Regions from separate parts of the Homo sapiens genome. Here region 2 is linked to region 1. Evidence: promoter capture Hi-C in human tissues and cell types (Jung and others, 2019). All regions are on one chromosome and are shown on one strand. Each heading gives the region's core, a stretch centred on a gene start or on the middle of the fragment in contact. The rest is flanking DNA. Distances are from core to core; before and after follow the strand shown. Region 1 holds the start of HTR1E (5-hydroxytryptamine receptor 1E). Region 2 overlaps HTR1E (5-hydroxytryptamine receptor 1E).

The links. The method cuts DNA at HindIII sites, captures the fragments that hold promoters and counts their contacts. A contact is called where the count stands out against the background at its distance.
Region 2: a fragment that was not itself captured here is called in contact with the fragment with the promoter of HTR1E in region 1 in 1 of the 25 tissues and cell types used here (H1 embryonic stem cells).

Annotation. Positions count from the first base shown.
Region 1 is chr6:86,936,013-86,939,021 of GRCh38, forward strand. HTR1E (5-hydroxytryptamine receptor 1E) reads left to right here and starts at 1,516. Exons shown (of 2, transcript NM_000865.3): 1 at 1,516-1,811. RefSeq lists enhancers at 1,300-1,855, 1,856-2,410. The HindIII fragment of the contact is 9,684 bases long and covers 1-3,009 here.
Region 2 is chr6:86,988,962-86,991,970 of GRCh38, forward strand. All of the region lies in intron 1 of HTR1E (5-hydroxytryptamine receptor 1E), which reads left to right. Among named protein-coding and RNA genes, the nearest start is that of HTR1E, 53 kb to the left of the region's middle. The HindIII fragment of the contact is 3,885 bases long and covers 1-3,009 here.

The sequences.
Region 1 (3,009 bases), core at 266-2,765:
GTGTCATCTTTAGTAGGAAAACATATTTCCACCTCATCCTCCTGTTAGACTTCAGTCTACTTAAGCCTATTCTCAGTTTAATGGGATTAACAGAAGCAAATCACAATTTAAGACTATAGTTTACCAACCTTCCTTTCTCTTGTTCAGTGAAATTCCCCTGATAATCCATCAGTCAACCCCTGCTGGCCTTGAGAGGCGCTCTAGAAGGCAGGAGAAGGGCACACAGGCTCGCTTTTTGAACTGAAGAAGGGTTTCATTTGGTTTAGAATTGTCAAACTTCAAAAAATAAATAAATAACTTAAAGTGTTTTTCAAATCAGCCATAAGGCTACAAACCAGAAAGAAAAGTGTGAGGCAGGTGTTTGGGGCAGCTACCCAAGTTGCCTACATGGTTTCCAAGGTCCTTTCAACTCTAAGGTTTGTGTATCAGGCTGTCTACAGATCATACTGTCTCCATAAGATTGTCTAGTTCATTTTATGGCTAGTTTGAACAATCTGATTTTCTTTTTTACAATGGCAGGGGCTCAATCCATGTTAGGCTTCAATGTTGAGTCACCCAAGTTCTCCACAGAGAATAACCAACCAGCCGTAAGGAAGCTTCTTTTAGCAATGCCAGGATTCTGCAAAGTCCCTCCCAGCTTAACTTTTCTGACCTTGCGGCAGCAGAACAACAAAAAGAACAGCCCCTGGCACCCTCAGAAGAGCACAAAGCCCTCTGACAACCTGAGATGGCGCCCAGGTAGACTTCCCTCAAAAAAAAAAAAAATGGCAAGGCTGCTTCAGCAGGTCTTTCAGCCCCAACCACTCCACTCTCCGTCTCCTTTTCTTCACTGCTTTCCCCACCTCTCTTCCCCCCTTCCACTTTGACCCACCCCAATTTTCGTCCACTTCTCCCTCACCCCTTCCTTGTAATCTCTCTCCTTGAGGCATCCTGTGGATGTTGACTGTAATCTCCCCTGGAGGAGGGCTAAGAAATGCACCTCCAGAGGGTCTGTTTGCCATTGGAACCGCGTAGAGAAAGCGTGCAAACCCGTCAACTGCTCCCGCCGTTCCTCTCCCTCCTCAACCCAGGCTCGCTACAGAAGAAGGGAGTAGGGTCTGCCCCCTTGTTGTATCTATTTTCCCCTTCTCCGCCAGGGCTGTGGCCGGCAAGGGGCTCAGGAGGTGAGTCCCTTGCCCACACCTCCAACCCCGCTGGCCCGGTTTATAACATGGACAGCCCTGCCCTCTAGTGTCTGCAACCGGGAGCCCTAAGGCGCCATCAGCTCCAGAATTTCTCTTTTATAACCTAAGCAAGACCTGGAGTACCTCGGAGCTGCGACCTCCAGTTCACAATACCACCTGCCTCACACCCGGGCTCATCTTTTCATCCCACACCCACCACCCCCCTCTCCGTTCACGGTGTCCCGGGAGGCTGCGACCTGCGTAGATGATTTAGCAGACTGCCCCTGCCCATGCTCCTGCTCCTGCTCCTCCTCCTCCTCTTCCCCGCTCTCTCCCTCTCGCCTCCTCTTCCAGTCCAGGCGCCCAGACTCGGCGAAGCGCAGCGCCTGCCACCAGCGGTGCCTCGGGCTGCCCGGCGCGCCGCGCTCCCAGGTTCTGTCTCGCCGCACCCCGGCGGGCACTGGCGCGGGCAAGGACGCTGGCGGGGAGAACGCCCTGGGCTCAACGTACTCCAGAATCGAATGTTGAGAGAAGCAGTGCTCTGATCCAGCTCAGGAGAAAAAGGAGCGGGTTCCGAGTGAGACTTCTGGAGCCAGCTGGACGTGCCGGTTTGCCCAGTGCGGCGCGGCTGCACGCACCGTCCACAAGGTGAGGGGCGCACACCTTCCGGGACGACCTTGGCTTCCCTTCTTACCCCCACCCACTCCAGGTACTCCAGCTCTGGCTTGGGGATGTTTGCCAGCTTTGAGGCGCAAAGGCGGCGGGAGTTGGGATGCGGGGTGTCGGAGGGAGACTGAGGGTCGCCCGGGCACCGTGCCTGCACCCTGGATTATAGTACAGAGAGCATTTCTTGTTCAAACAATTCCTCAAATGTGTGAACCTGAGAATCAACATTGTGTATAACTGTGGTTTGAGCATTTCATCCTGCTTCCTTGCAAAAGGATTAGAGGCAGCTTAAAGATTAAATAGGTATGGAACGGGTGCTGGGGGGGGCCAGGGAAAACTTGAGTAGAAATCACAGGGAGGTGGTGTGCTCCAGGGACCCCGGAAGAACTGTGTGATTTCAAAGCCAGCTGATTAAAAAACCTTTGATTAGAAAGGACTGCACTGTTGCTCCAGCCCTCAGAAAATAATACTGTGCTCAGTCCTGATAAACAAAATGCCCAGGTGTGGAGGTAATGAGGCAGGCTCATTTTTTTTAAAATACAAAATAAATCTTGGAAGTAAGAGTTAAGATGAGAAGTTTGGTCTTAAGCCATCTCCACCCAATACTGCAAGGTGAGAGGCTGACCCCCTACCTAACGAAAAGGAAAGGAAATTGAGTCTAAAGGGAAGTGATTCCAGCTCCTATCACAGGATCATAGTGGTTTTGCATCTATATGTATATTTCTGCCTGTGCCCAGTTTTGGAAGAAAGGACCTTGTATTCAACCCAACGCTGCTTGTCCTTGAGTTAGAAGGATAAGGCAGATGGTGTCAGCATCCCAAGGTGTTTCTTCCTAACCTTTCTTATTGTCCTTCCTTGCCTCCTGCACCAAATCTCTTGGGGAGGGAGCAGCCCAGGAGGAAATAATAGATCGTCAAATGGGTTGGGGGAGCAGTGTTTTTTCCAAAATAATTTAGGCTCATTTTATCATTCTTATGTTTTCCCTCAAAGCTCTAAGCAGTACATCGTCCTAAGCTGAATTTAACATTGCTCCAGAATATATATTTATCATAGTTGTACATTCAGACACAATATGCATAACCTTAAACAGCCAGGATGCACTTGTGAATCAGGGGCTTCCCTTACTTAATCCTGCGCAAGAGAGGCAAAGCAGGCACGTGGGTCTGATTCCCTGTGCGGT
Region 2 (3,009 bases), core at 370-2,869, 53 kb after region 1:
AGTGAAAGTAAATTTGGGAAATAATAGTGCCATATAAGTGTGATGAATCACTGACATTTTTATTGGGCATTAACAACACGTTTTTAAATATAATTTCCCCCAAACTAGAGGCTACTTCTTTCTTGGAACTGAATGATAAATACATGCACATACCCCTTACCCAAGGCAGCCATCTGTTCTAAGGGATCCTCCAGGTTACTGTCCCTACCCCGACACCACACTGCCTCCCAGATGTCCTTCTCCCTGAAGCCAGCCCCAGATCTTCTCTCCCCAAGCAGCTCTCCTTTTTGCCTGTCTTCCTGAGTACCGGTCCCCAAATCACCAAATTCTACCTTGAACATATTGAATGAAAGTGTGCAGTGCCTTATGCCCTGATGAGAAGTGGTCTTGGAAGATGTTTTCTGCACCAACTTAAGAAGCTATCACAAAATCATGATAAAAAAAATGATGAGCTATTTATACTTTGCAGACATAGGTGGTTGTTGGAAGAAAAGAGTGCCTTAGGAATCAAATAACTGGTATTGGAGGATTCCTGTGACTTTGTAAAATTCAATTAAATATCCAGGGGAAAATAATAGACAACATTGTCACCTGAGGATACATTATTGGTCCTTGTTGAAAAAGCAGTAGTTTCTAACCAGTTCCTTCCTAACCTATTTGCCATTAATTTCTGGAAGTTACAAACTGTAATAACAATTACCATAACACTGACTGTAGCATAAAAACCATAGGATGTTAGCCCCAAAAGATGGTCAGAAATAATGAGGTGCTAATTTTACAGATAGGGAAACAGAGACCTGAAGCAAGGAGTGTCTTTTTCAGAGTCACACAACCAATCATTAATGTATCTAAGACACATTTGCAGGAGGATTCTGTTCTTCACTCCTCCATTTTTATACAACATACTATCTCTTGCTTTTCAACCTACAGTAAGTTGAGCCAAAAAAAAAAGATACCTACAAATCTCCTTCTTGAACATGCCCTTTGAGGTGGCTGGAACAGTATCAAGTGGTCTGAGATAGCAATGCACTAGGTGGAAGCTTAGATAGATGGCACTAAGTGGAAGCCTAGTAGGAAACCTCAGCCCTGCAGGCAGCTTCCATGTGTATTCCCTTGGGTCTGCCACAAAAGCATGTTGCACTACAAAAGATTCAAAAGGCAAATGTGTGCACAGCACAGGAGGGAGCCCAGTTCTTCTCTGAGGAGTTTCCTACTTCAGTGGTGTTATTAAGCTGGGTCAAAAGAAAGTCATTTCATTTTTTTAAAATATGCTAATACAACCTCAAGCACCAGCTAGCTTAAATGATAGGCATTTCATAAAGTTCATTTTTATTATTCTCAGCTGAAAAGTAAATAACACCCTACAGGTGTCCTTCATATAAAAATGATGTATTTGCCTTCAATGGAGACTCTGTATTGACTAAAACCTTATCTGTATTTCACAAGACAGATCATTTTTCCCCATCACCTTTCAAAGAGGTGTTGTTGCCAGTCTATACAGGACAAACGAAAACAGTCTAATAAAAGAAATGGTTCAGCAGGAACTAACTGAAAGAGTTCCCAGTGACCAAAACTGGAACAACTTGAGCAATAAAATAAATAACCTAGTATTGGATTATAACCCAAAGAATAAAATAAATAGCCATGAGTTCATACTTATATAAATAAACATAAATAGGCATCAATAGTGTATTTATAAAATAATTTCCCCAGAACTAAAGGCTACTGCCCCCTTGGGACTGAATCATAAATATATGCACAGTAAATATCAATATAAATAAATGACTGAACAAATAAAGTAGGGGAGAAGAGATAAATCTTCCTTTCAGAATTCCATATAATGTATGTTCATATTCTCCCTCTCCAAAAGGCAGAGCTTAATTCCTCAGTTTTGGAGGTAGACTAGACTTAGTGATTCACTTCTTAAAAAATAGAGCAGGGAAAGGGAAAAATAGTAACTTTATAGTGGAGAATCATGGCAAATGCTACCTTAACCAAATGATGACAGTTAACACCACCAGTAATGTCAAGTGAATATCATGTTCTCTAATATGATCTAATGAGAAGGGCTTGACTTCTGAGATACTCTTCACCAAAACTTATAACCCCAGTCTAAACATGAGGGAAAACATCAGATAAACTGAGATCAGGGGGACATTTTTTTCTACAGAATACCTGGCCAGTATTCCTTAAGACAGTCAGTCATGAGAAACAAGCAAAGATTAGAAAGTCACAGACCAGAAGAGACTGGGGAGATAAGAAAAATTAAATACAATGTGGTGTCCTGAATTGGAACAGAAAGAAGACATTAATGCAAAAACTATTAAATCCAAATAAAATCTGAAGTTTAGTTAATAGTAACGAGCCAATGTCTTTTTCTTAATTTTGAAAAATGTACCATGGTAATACAAGAAGTTAACAATGGGTAAAACTGAATGAGGGGTATATATGAACTCTCTGTACTTTCTTTACAGCTCTTCTATAAATATAAATTTCTACCAAAATAAAAAGTTTATTTCTTAAAATAGATGGTGCAAATGTATCTTATTGCATGCTCTTCCCTGGAGCATGGTAGAGTTTTATAGTGAATGCATTGCCAAATCCAAGGAAGACAGAAGACTTGAGAAAACTAAATACTTTCAGCAGCCAGGGGTGGAGTGGTGACAACAAGCTGTAGAATAAAAGGAAAAGTGATGTTTGTTCAGTGAAGAACAAACTAAGTCTTATTTGTGTAGTGGTCTCAGAAGCAGAATATGTTCTAAACAAAGAGTTAAGGAAGGTAAAAGCTCAAACCAACAAGTAAACCAGATTTCACAGAAACACAAATGTGTAGCGGCTGTCCAATAATGATTATGTTTAATAGTAGAATAGACTCCAGTTGCAAACATATGTTTTATACAAACTCTTCAAATTGGAGACATTTCTCTAAATTTTCCTTGTAAATTGTGCAGGATATTACATCTGACTTTCATATTATCATCTCAAAAGTGGTGAAACCATTTTGCCAAT